Linked DNA regions of Homo sapiens: regions 1 and 2 are each linked to region 3. The links are contacts of gene promoters, found by promoter capture Hi-C in blood cells and fetal thymus (Javierre and others, 2016). All regions are on one chromosome and are shown on one strand. The core of a region is centred on a gene start or on the middle of the fragment in contact, and the rest is flanking DNA. Distances in the headings are between cores, read along the strand shown. Region 1 overlaps DBR1 (debranching RNA lariats 1). Region 2 overlaps COPB2 (coat protein complex I subunit beta 2). Region 3 holds the start of PIK3CB (phosphatidylinositol-4,5-bisphosphate 3-kinase catalytic subunit beta).

Region 1 (4,012 bases), core at 696-3,195, 670 kb after region 3:
ATCGATTTCACAAATTTCATGAATTACATTGACAGCTAAAACTTACATCCTGAATGTAACTGTTACAAGTCTGTTCCCTGCCACTTGGCTCTTTCTTATTCTAAACTGTTGGAATGGAGGTACAAAATAGGCTGTCTTCTCTGTGGCAGGTGTGGGTACAAATTGGAACCACTTTTGGGAAGCTGTTTATCAGGTTTTTCTATTTTATCTCAGGGATATCATTTATGCATATAATACACATATTTCTTTTTCGGCTTAAAACAACAATAATTTGTTATTTTATTAATATTGGGAGCATAAGGAACTAGTCTCTAGTCAACAGTTAGAAAGTAACTGAAGTGTGCCAGCAACCATGTGTGGGACCTTAGAAAGCAGATACACCCTTATTTGAGCCTGCAAAGGAAGGAGACTGCAGTCCACCATCTTTTTAAAAAATTTCCCTAGATAACTTTTTAAAATCGTATATATTGAAGGTGTACATGATATTTTGGAGACCTGTGTATATGTCTTTGTATTTGCAGTATTTAAGGAAATTAAATATAGCTTATTTTTCTGCTTCAATCTAAGGTCATTTTGAGTGCCCCCCTTATAATTCATCTACAATCAGGAGTATATATCATGTGAGAAATATTGAAGTCTATAAATTAAAACAGGTACGTAAAAAGCGCATTACAGCAGACTTGAAAACATTTTAAAGTAATTCTGTGCCAAAATGTATTTTGGTCATATTGGTATACTACTTTCAAGAAGAGCAATTCTGTATTTTTAAAATGTGGATCTTGAGTTTTTAGGAGGTTCACAGATGAACCTTTTTTTTTTCTTTTTTTGAGACAGAGTCTCACTATGTCACCCAGGCTGAAGTGCAGTGGCGCGATCTCGGCTCACTGCAACCTCCGCCTCCTGGGTTCAAGCAAGTCTTGTGCCTCAACCTTCTGAGTAGCTGGAACTATGGGCGCACACCACCACACCTGCCTAATTTTTTGTATTTGTAGTAGGGATGGGGTTTCACCATGTTTGCCAGGCTGGTCTCAAATTCCTGACCTCAGGTGATCCGCCTGCCTTGGCCTCCCAAAGTGCTGGGATTATAGGTGTGAGCCACTGTGCCCGGCAAAATTTTTTTTACTTCAATAATTACGAGTTTATTTTAGTAAGAATGAAAGATTTAATTCATGATTTCAAATATTACTTAGGTTAAGGCTAAAGAATACCTATTAAAGTGATATTTAAAATAAAATGTTAAAGTGATATTTTAAAGAAAATATTGAAATAAACATTTTATTTTATGTAATAGTAATTAAGTAATGGTATTAAATAGAAAATAAGTAATAGTAAAGATGATAGAGGAAATGGGAAAATTGTGAAGGTGGTATGGAAACACTGCTTAATTGCAGAGTAGGTGAAACTAGGTTGTTTGAGAACCCATTACATGGCTGACACTGGGCTAAACAGACTTCACACTTGGTATTTCATATAATCTCCACTCAAACCCTATGAAATAGATGTAACTCTTAACTTCATCCCTTTAAGGATGAGAAGCCAAGGCTCAGACAGGTAAGTAACCTGCCCAGGACTTCCCAAAGTTTAGTGGTAGAGCCTGCCTGACTGCACTCATGCCCATCACACTGTCTCTAGAGCCTCTGCAGGAGTCTAACAATTCTTGCAAGTGTTTCTTTTATGCCCTGTGCATACAGTTCCCTTAAATAGATTTTCTCTTTCACCTATCTAAATCCTACCAGTCCTTTAAGACCCAACTTAGATGCCATTTCCCAACCATGAGTTTTCTTCTTTTTTTTTTTTGAGACAAGGTCTCACTCTGTCACCCAGGCTGGAGTGCAGTAGTATGATCATGGCTTGACTCACTGCAGCCTCAATCTGCCAGGCTTGGGTGATCCTCCCACTTCAGCCTCCCGAATAGCTTGGACTATAGGCATGCATCACCTCGCCCAGCTAATTTTTTTCATATTTTTTAGAGACAGAGTTTCGCCATGTTGCCCAGGCTGGTCTCAAACTCTTGAACTCAAGCGATCCTTCTGCCTTGGCCTCCGAAAGTGCTGGGATTACAGGCATGAGCCACCATGCCCAGCCAGCCATGACTTCTCTAGTTTAGAGTCATTACCCTAGTTTGAATTTTTGTTGCATCTGTTGGCCATACCAGTTATTCAGTGGTTAGTCATATCTATCTAATATCTAATATTTTGTATTGTCTTGAGCAGTTATTTAAGTTTTTTTTTTTTTTTTTGAGACAAAGTTTCACTTCTGTTGCCCAAGCTGGAGTGCAACAGTGCGATCTTGGCTCACTGCAACCTCTGCCTCCTGGGTTCAAGCGATTCTCCTGCCTCAGCCTCCTGAGTAGCTGGGATTACAGGCGCCCACCACCACGCCCGGCTAATTTTTTGTATTTTAAATAAAGATGGGGTTTCACCATGTTGGCCAGGCTGGTCTCGAACTCCTGACCTTCAGGCGATCCACCCACCTCGGCCTCCTAAAGTGCTGGGATTACAGGCGTGAGCCACTGTGCCCAGCCGGTATTTAAGTTGTTTTAATTTCATTTTTCAAGTATTCGTTTCAGATTACTTGAAGGTTCTGGGGATAAGTAAAGTCTGGAGTATATTTTGTTTCCTTAAGTTGTTTAATGAAATACTAATTTATGTAGTAAACACAGTTTTTTAGTGTATACTATGTGAGCCTATTAGAATTTTTTTTTTCCTGGTAAATCTTTGGGTTTACTGAATCAGTCATGTTAGAGGTCTCGTGAAATCTAGTGTCTCTGGATCTTCAAAACAGTAATTTCTTTTTTCTTTTTTTTCTTTTTGAGATGGAGTTTCACTCTTGTGGCCCAGGCTGGAGTGCAATTGCATGATCTCGGCTTATTGCAACCTCCACCTCCTGGGTTCAAGCGATTCTCCTGCCTCAGTCTCCCTAGTAGCTGGGATTACAGACAGATGCCACAACGTCCAGCTAAATTTTTGTATTTTTAGTAGAGATGGGGTTTCACCATGTTGGTGAGGCTCGTTTCGAACTCCTAACCTCAGGTGATCCACCTGCCTCAGCCTCCCAAAGTGCTGGGATTATAGGCGTGAGCCACCGCGCCCGGCCCAAAATAATAATTTCTTTACCAAAGAGGAAAAGAACTATGGTTATCGTGTATTTTAGAAGCTAAGTGCTAAAGATCTTAGATGACTGGCAGTCTAATCAGAGTCTGTCTCCATTGCCTTGCCTTGCCACTGAAAATAAGAATGATTTATGAGCAGAGAAAATGCAGCTTCTCTTTGCCTAGATGAATGAGTTGCCTAGTATTTTTATCACTCTCTTAAAGTGTCCTTAGAATGAATTATACAGAATTCTAGAGATCTCAGTGGGTGAATGGTTGTATGGTGGTAGAGAGAAGGGAGGGGATTGTTTTGGTTAATCTGTTTTAAGAGTTTTCTTTCTTTCTCTTTTTCTCTTTTGAAAGCTGAAGCAGCCTATAGATATATTCTTGTCTCATGATTGGCCAAGAAGTATATATCATTATGGAAATAAGAAGCAACTTCTTAAGACTAAATCTTTTTTCCGACAAGAAGTGGAAAATAACACATTAGGAAGTCCAGCTGCCTCAGAGCTTTTAGAGCATCTCAAACCTACTTATTGGTTTTCTGCCCACCTTCATGTGAAGTTTGCCGCCTTGATGCAGCATCAGGTAGAAAACAAAATGTTTATTCTTTCATTTAACACACACTATTGAACATCTATGGACCAGACACAGTTGTAAAGTTAGAGAAAGAAGTAAAAGATAACTTACCTCTTGTGAGTAGCTCAATATATGATTCTGGGAAAGACAAGCAATTACAAAACAGTATAATAAGTTTGAGAGAAAACGTAGGCAGTGGGAGCACCTAAGCCAGACTGTGGTGGGATGGGAACATGGGAGATGAAGATAGAGAAGGTTTTCAAAAGGTGATAGCTGAACTGAGTCTTGAAGTGCCAGGAAGAAACACATTGTAAGGGTATTTTATTTAGAGGGACTGGCATG
Region 2 (3,746 bases), core at 10-2,509, 550 kb before region 3:
GCTGATTAAATTATATAGGCAAGCCTTTTAACCATGCTGAGCCTCTTTATTTATCTGAAGTGAAGATGATATTATTGCCTTGCCTACATCACAGGATTGTCAAAAAGATAAAATAAAATTAGATAAAATTGTGTATGAAACCTATAAAGTACCATATAAGTATTAGTCATTAGTTATACTTTCCTAATCTACGTTGAGTATTTGTATGTATTGTGTGTGTAGCTTTTCTTACTCTTTATTTGCATCAGTCATAGCCCCTAACATGGCGTTGAACCTTGGCTATTTCTTCTGCAGCTGCTTTATTTTTACTGCTCAGCAGATCCCTGGATTTGTTGGCTCCTCATGAGCTTTTGTGGATTTTTCTGCCGTGTTATAGATCGCATGTTGTGTCTACTCTCAGTTTCTGTATCATAGTCAGCTGGTAGTGATTCTACAGGTTAGAGTTGAAGTGCCTACTCATTCAGCCTTTGTCTAAAGAATCTTTGAACTCTGGCTTGAAAAGTCAGAGTAGGACAGTTCTTATGAACCGGTCCCTATTACTTTTTTAGTGCACATGGTTAATCAATCAGTAAGATTATATTGTGTTTCTTAGTTATTTCATTTTTGCTCTCTGATACAAAAAAGGATTAGAAAATGATAGTTTGACTTTCAGACTTTTAAGAACAGGCATCAAAGAAGGAGAACAAAGAGGTACCATGATCTCTGCTCTTTCTAGGAGGGTCTCTACCTTTATCCTATGTGTATAATTCCATTCTGAGCAGCTCGGAGGAACATATAAGTCACGGTGTTTTCATATTTTATTAAAAAGAAATAATAACATTTGTATGGAATCATATTGCTAAAGCATGCAAAAGAATTGTACCTTATTCATGAGTCACTTTTATGGGTTTCAATTTCAAAAAGACTGACTAGGTGCAGTGGCTCACGCCTGTAATCCCAGCACTTGGGAGGCTGAGACGGGTGGATCACTTGAGGCCAGGAGTTCGAGACTACCCTGGCCAACATGGTGAAACCCCGTCTGTACGAAAAATACAAAAATTTGCTTGGCATGGTGGTGCACACCTGTAATCCCAGCTACTTGGGTAACTGAAGCATGAGAATCACTTGAACCTGGGAGGCGGAGGTCGCAGTGAGCCAAGATTGTGCCACTGTACTGCACTTCAGCCTGGGTGACAGAGTAAGACTGTCTCAAAAAAAAAAAAAAAAAAAAAAAGAAAAGAAAAAAAGAAACTAAGAGCTAATTCATTCAACAAATATTTATTACACACTACTTGTGTGCCAGCCACTGTTCTATCCTCTGCCTATACAGTGTGAAAAATATTCCTGCCTTTGGAGAGCTTAGCAGGAAAGATTGGCACTAAACATAATTATGAGGTGCTACATTATGAAAGGGAAGTACAAGTTTCCATGGGTGGATTTTCAAGTCAGAGACAACAAGAGCAGAGGTGAGGCTGGGAGTAGCCAAAGGTGAGGCTGGAAAAGGGAGGGAAGGGCTGGAGCACAGAGGATCTGGAATACCATCTTGTGGATATTTGCCTTCTCTTATCTTTTAAAAAGTGTTTTAATTTCGAATCTATTAAAAGATAGTTGGTCTTTTTTAAAAATTTGAATGTTGAGCTTTTATATTTTAGCCTGAGAATATACTAAAATGAGAAGTGATCTTAAAAATTGGATGTTTGAAATATAACAGAGTAGATTTTGTGGTTATTTTCTTATAGCTCAATTTGTGTATTCTTGTTACATTTTAAAGACACTGGTGAAGACATTTGAAGTATGTGATCTTCCTGTTCGAGCTGCAAAGTTTGTTGCAAGGAAGAATTGGGTTGTGACAGGAGCGGTAAGTAATTAATATGAATCTCTATTCCCATTTTCTGAATTGGTCAATGATTGTGTAAATTTGTTGCAGGATTTTGATTCCCGATTTGTTTTGTTATTTACAGCAATGTTTTGAGGCATAGACTTTATTCCTTGAGCCTGTGATATAGTTTTTTTGTATAATTTACTTGATAACAGGGATGATGGTTTTAAAATTTCTGTTTCTAGGATGACATGCAGATTAGAGTGTTCAATTACAATACTCTGGAGAGAGTTCATATGTTTGAAGCACACTCAGACTACATTCGCTGTATTGCTGTTCATCCAACCCAGCCTTTCATTCTAACTAGCAGTGGTAAGAGATGACCTTTTTTGGTCATGTGCGTCTCTTTGGGTAATTCATTTTCATTCACTGAGACATGCTATGCTTTAACTGCTGTTACAAATATAATTCTAATTCCAAGCGGCCTTTAAACTATTTAGATCCATTACTGTGCTATTGATGCTGCTTGTGTTTGTACTATAATGAAATATCAACTGTACTTAGGATTTGTGTAATGATTGCTCCAGTTCCTGTCAGAGAAGACCTACAAGTCTAGATGTTTAAACATCTGCTGAACAGAAAGGTCATTTACATGTTGATGAGTGAGTTTTTGGCAGATTGCCATAGACCCTATTCAGTTCAATCTTTATATTCAAACTAGTTTGCTCCTTGGTATTGTGTATAAATAGTAGACCTCTTGGAGGACTGGAAAAAGAGGTAGCACTGAATTAGTAATAGCTCTTTGAAATGTTTTTAAATTAAAAATTGAGAAGTAATTAAAAACTTTTTAAAAACCAATCTTGTGAGGGCAAATGCTTGTTCTCTACATAGTCATTGCTATCACTATTCAGTCATGCTTAGATCTAGTCAAACTTATATTACTCTTTGGCCATTCTTTAATGCCCACTGAATTTTTAAGTTTTTTCACAGAATTTTTATATTTTCTATTTCTAATCTATTTTATTTATTTTATCTCCACTTTTCTGTAGAGAGTTAAATTTATTTTTAAGATAAATAAGCATTTTGAAAACTCTATTTGGTTTTGATTCTATTTCTGTAAGTCATGGATTATATGGTTTGTGTTAGGTTTGCTTCTTCTAAAGACTGTGTCTTAGTTATGAAGTGAAAAAATAGAATTACAACTAACTTGAGACTTTCTTTTGGCCTAGATGACATGCTTATTAAGCTCTGGGACTGGGATAAAAAATGGTCTTGCTCACAAGTGTTTGAAGGACACACCCATTATGTTATGCAGATTGTGATCAACCCCAAAGATAACAATCAGTTTGCCAGTGCCTCTTTGGACAGGACTATCAAGGTAGGGCATCCACATTTTGTGTCAGTTATCATTATTAGTGAACTATACTTGCCTTAGGTGTTTTACTGTTGACTGGTCAGAAATGTACCCATCTTAAAAATTTTCCTCAAAAGCCTGTTTTGAAGTCAAAATAGGATTTCTCATTTTAATCCAAACGACATGTTCTGTTTAGAAAAATATTGTGGCAACTCAGTGCTCTTAATGAGGAGCGTTTTTCTGTGTGGAGGCAGCATGTTATAAAAATTTTTTAGCCTTTGGAAACCCAGAATAAGAAAAATGCCAATATCTTTTTAGGATACTACTGTCCTCTCCTTTTAGTATTCATTGTTGACTTCTGCTCATCGTTTATCTATTTTACATTTAAATTCCATATGCCTCTATTCTCTCTTTCTTACTCCATTTTACCACACTGCTGTCTGTTATCTTTCTGAAACAGTTCCTGATCTAAGGATAAAGTCCAAATGCCTTAGTGTGGAATACAAGGATTTCCAGGACTAGCCTGGGCTAATATTATGCGACATCTCCTAAAACCCTGGTCTACTCACCATCCTCTAGAGAGGCTATGAATGT
Region 3 (3,695 bases), core at 144-2,643:
CCAAGTAGCTGGGACAACAGATGCACATCACCACACTCACGTCATTTTTGTCAGTCTCGCCATATTGCCCAGGCTAGGTGTGAACTCCTGGGCTCAAGTGATCTGCCCACCTCGGCCTCCCAAAGTGTTGGTATTACAGCCTCTTCTGGAATTTATTTTTCAATGTTCTTGCTTTAAATCGAAAGTCAATTAAAACCAGGATCATTGGCCGGGCACGGTGGCTCATGTCTGTAATCCCAGCCCTTTGGGAGGCCGAGGCGGGCTGATCACCTGAGGTCGGGAGTTCGAGACCAGCCTGACCAACGTGGAGAAACCCCGTCTCTACTAAAAATACAAAATTAGCCAGGCGTGGTGGCGCATGCCTGTAATCCTCAGGAAGGCTGAGGCAGGAGAATCGCTTGACCGGGGGACGCAGAGTTGCGGTGAGCCAAGATCGCGCCATTGCACTCCAGCCTGGGCAACAGTAGCGAAACTCTCATTCAAAATAAGTAAATAAATAAAAAATAAAAAAACTAGGATCATTTCTCAAATAAACTATTGGTTTGTCACTTAATTGATTTGTCACGTTTGCTTTTTATTATGTTGTACTTCTAGATTTTATCCCTGACTACTCAACTATTTGTCCAGGGTAATATAGGAGCATTACGTTAGAATATACTAGCTTTGGAGTGAGTTAAAATGTTGGTTTTCAGTAAGTAAAATTTAAGTGTCCCACTAGAAAGAGGACTGTGATTTTTCGCGGTTGGGGTCAAAGGTAACAGGAAACAAGGTAGGCAAAAAGGGGTAAAGTTTAAGGCTCTGCAGACAAATGTTAGGTGTTGTTACTGCAAAATTGAACAAAGAACAAGAATCTTGGGCTTGAAAGCCTGGACTTTTCCCTAGAAACAACCATTCACAGTGTAGGGACTGAAGGGCCAGCTGTGAGGCAGCCGAGCTAGCGCCCTATCCTCACAAAGGGAGTGAAAGACGGAGACGGGTATCGGGAAAAAAATAAGTGCTGCGTCCAAGAATTTAGGAGTCAGTCCATGTCGCAGAACAGGGAGAAGGGCTGGGAAGAAAAGGCCAGCAAGGAACCTAGGAAGAGCGGAATCTCTCGGGAGGAGGTTATGGAGGCCGCAGCGGGTGATGGGTCTCTCCTGAAGGCGACTTGCCGGGGATTCCCTATTCCGCAGTCCTCTGGGAGTCGCAAAGAGAGTTAGGAAAGGCCGTGCAGCAGCGTCGCAGCCGGGCTGGCAACGGTAGAGGAATCGGCAGTGAGGCCTCTCCCCACACCCTGCCAGCCCAACTGCCGCCGCCGCCGCCGCCGCCACCGCGGGGCCCGGGATTGGCCCGAGGGCGGCGCAGGGCGGGGCGGGGGCTGCTGGGATGCAGGCCTGAGAGGCTGGCGCGCGCGCACACGGGCGCGGGTTCGGCGGCGGCGCGCGCGTGCTCTGTCGGCCTGTGCGGCGCTGCGGCGGAGCGGGCCATGGCAGTGGGGAGGGGGCGAGTGTAGTGCTGCGCGGGGCAGGCGGGAGGTGATCGAGAGAGGCAGGGATGGGGGCGCCGGAGTGGAGCGGTTGCGGCGGCCTGGGCTGCTGACTGCGCACTTGGAATAGTAGCAGGCGGCGGCGGCGGAACGCCAGGCAGGTGAGTGCGGCGGCCGGGACCCGGATGCGGCGCGGCTGAGGGGCGGCTGGGTCGCGGCGCCGGCTGCGGTGCCCCCGGGCGTGCTGGCGGTGCGTTCTAGCTTGCCGCTACCTGCGGCGCTGGCGACTCTTGTGGTTGCACCGCGCTTCCTGCCAGCTTGGAGGATAACCGCCTACCGGCCGGTGGGGGCGTCTGGCTTGGTTGCGGCCCGCCCTGGGCTCTCCAAGGTGAGTGGCGCCCCCCGGCCCCTGGGCGGCAGAGACGCTGCCGGGCGTCCCGGGTCACTGTCGCTTTGGGTCCCGTTCCTGAGGGGCGTTTCTGTGGAGAGACGGCGTACTCGCGCCCCGCGTCTATGCGGACACCTCCGGAACTTCCCGACCCTCAGGTGCCTTTTTGCGCAGAAGTGTATTTCAGAGGCGTGGACCCAGGGTTATTAGGTTATGGACATGTTTTCGAATCCCAACGCCGCTGCTGACCAGTCCTGGGGCCTTGGGCCAAAATATCCTGATGTGTTAAATGGAAATAATAATACATACACCATAAGGTTGTTGTGAGGTTAGGCATAACTGAACAAGTGCTAAGTAAATGATACCCCTGCTGCAGCATCTCGTGTTAGCTATTGCTAATTCCTGGCTGCTGGCGTGCGTTTGGGGGCACATTTATTTCCGATCTGCTCTGGTGTTGCAGTAACCGATACTGGAGTTGCTTAATATTGGAGCCTGTTAACCTCGCAGTGGCCAAAATAGAATCCTATAGTCCCTTACTAGAATCCTGCAGTCTCTTCCCGCAGGGCTGAATTGGAACCCTGTCTCAGGTACTGAGTGGGAATTACTGCTGAAATGAAACCGAGCAAATTCGGGATTCGCTTAGGATGAAAGATGGTGGGACGTAAACTTGAAGTGCTTTGCTGTTTCATCTCAAGTGACACTTGAACTCTGCCACTTGTTACAGAGTTATAAACACACGAAGAGTATGGAAACAGACTCTTTTTTCTGCATTGCTACATCCAAAGGGAGTGACAAGTGCTTTTGTAAACATCATTGTGGGCAGTGTGACTGTCTGGTGAAGTCATGATAATTAAATGAGTACTTATTTTGAAGCACTGAATGGAAGTTTGGAGATATGATTCGTAATAAAATTGTCTCCAACGAGTCAGAGGTCTCAGCAGTTCATTAATCATTTGGGGATTTTTATGCTACATTGTAAGATTTTATGGTAAAAGCAGAACTGTTTAAGTCATAATAATGTAGCACAGGAAAGGGTGGTCAGATAAGGATCTTAACCCAGTTTCAGAATGCAGGTATGGAAGAAAGTAAAGTCTTTTTTCTGACCAGGTGCGTTGGCTCACGCCTGTAATCCCAGCACTTTGGGAGGCCGAGGCGGGCGGATCAATTGATTCCAGGAGTTCGACACCAGCCCAAGCAACATGGTGAAACCCCGTCTCTACCAAAAACACAAAAATTAGCAGGGCGTGGTGGCGGGCGCTTGTAATCCCAGCTACTTGGGAGGCTGAGGCAGGAGAATCCCTTGAACCCGGGAGGCGGAGGTTGCAGTGAGCCGAGATGGCACCACTGGACTCCAGCCTGGGCAACAGAGGGATACCCTGTCTCAAAAAGAAAAAAAAAAAATCTTTTTGAGACCGAATCTTGCTTCTTTTTTAAAAAAAAATTATTGTTGTTTTTTGAGGCAGGGTCTCGGTCTGTCGCCCAGGCTGGAGTGCAATGTCGCCATCTTGGCTCACTGCAACCTCCGCCTCCTGGGTTCAAGCGATCCTCCTGCCTCAGGCTCCCTAGTGGCTGAGACTACAGGGGCGTGCCACCACGCCTGGCCAATCTTTCAATTTTGTTTTTTTTTTTTTTTTTTTGAGACGGAGTTTCGCTTTTGTTGTCCAGGCTGGAGTGCAATGACGCGATCTCCAGCTCACCGCAACCTCCGCCTCCCGGGTTCAAGCGATTCTCCTGCCATAGCCTCCCGAGTAGTTGGGATTACAGGCATGTGCCACCACACGCGGCTAATTTTGTACTTTTTTTGGTAGAGACGGGGTTTCTCCATGTTGGTCAGGGTGGTCT

Evidence for each region. The method cuts DNA at HindIII sites, captures the fragments that hold promoters and counts their contacts. A CHiCAGO score of 5 or more calls a contact.
Region 1: a fragment that was not itself captured here is called in contact with the fragment with the promoter of PIK3CB in region 3 in 1 of 17 cell types (neutrophils); the score reaches 5.6 in neutrophils.
Region 2: a fragment that was not itself captured here is called in contact with the fragment with the promoter of PIK3CB in region 3 in 1 of 17 cell types (neutrophils); the score reaches 6.3 in neutrophils.

What each region holds. Positions count from the first base shown.
Region 1 is chr3:138,166,748-138,170,759 of GRCh38, reverse strand. It overlaps DBR1 (debranching RNA lariats 1), which reads left to right. Exons shown (of 8, transcript NM_016216.4): 4 at 568-653; 5 at 3,455-3,679. Among named protein-coding and RNA genes, the nearest start is that of DBR1, 6.2 kb to the left of the region's middle. The HindIII fragment of the contact is 4,308 bases long and covers 1-4,012 here.
Region 2 is chr3:139,377,471-139,381,216 of GRCh38, reverse strand. It overlaps COPB2 (coat protein complex I subunit beta 2), which reads left to right. Exons shown (of 22, transcript NM_004766.3): 3 at 1,751-1,837; 4 at 2,044-2,170; 5 at 3,028-3,176. Among named protein-coding and RNA genes, the nearest start is that of COPB2, 10 kb to the left of the region's middle. The HindIII fragment of the contact is 7,183 bases long and covers 1-3,746 here.
Region 3 is chr3:138,832,626-138,836,320 of GRCh38, reverse strand. It overlaps PIK3CB (phosphatidylinositol-4,5-bisphosphate 3-kinase catalytic subunit beta), which reads left to right and starts at 1,393. Exons shown (of 24, transcript NM_006219.3): 1 at 1,393-1,626. RefSeq lists a silencer at 1,157-1,896. The HindIII fragment of the contact is 25,969 bases long and covers 1-3,695 here.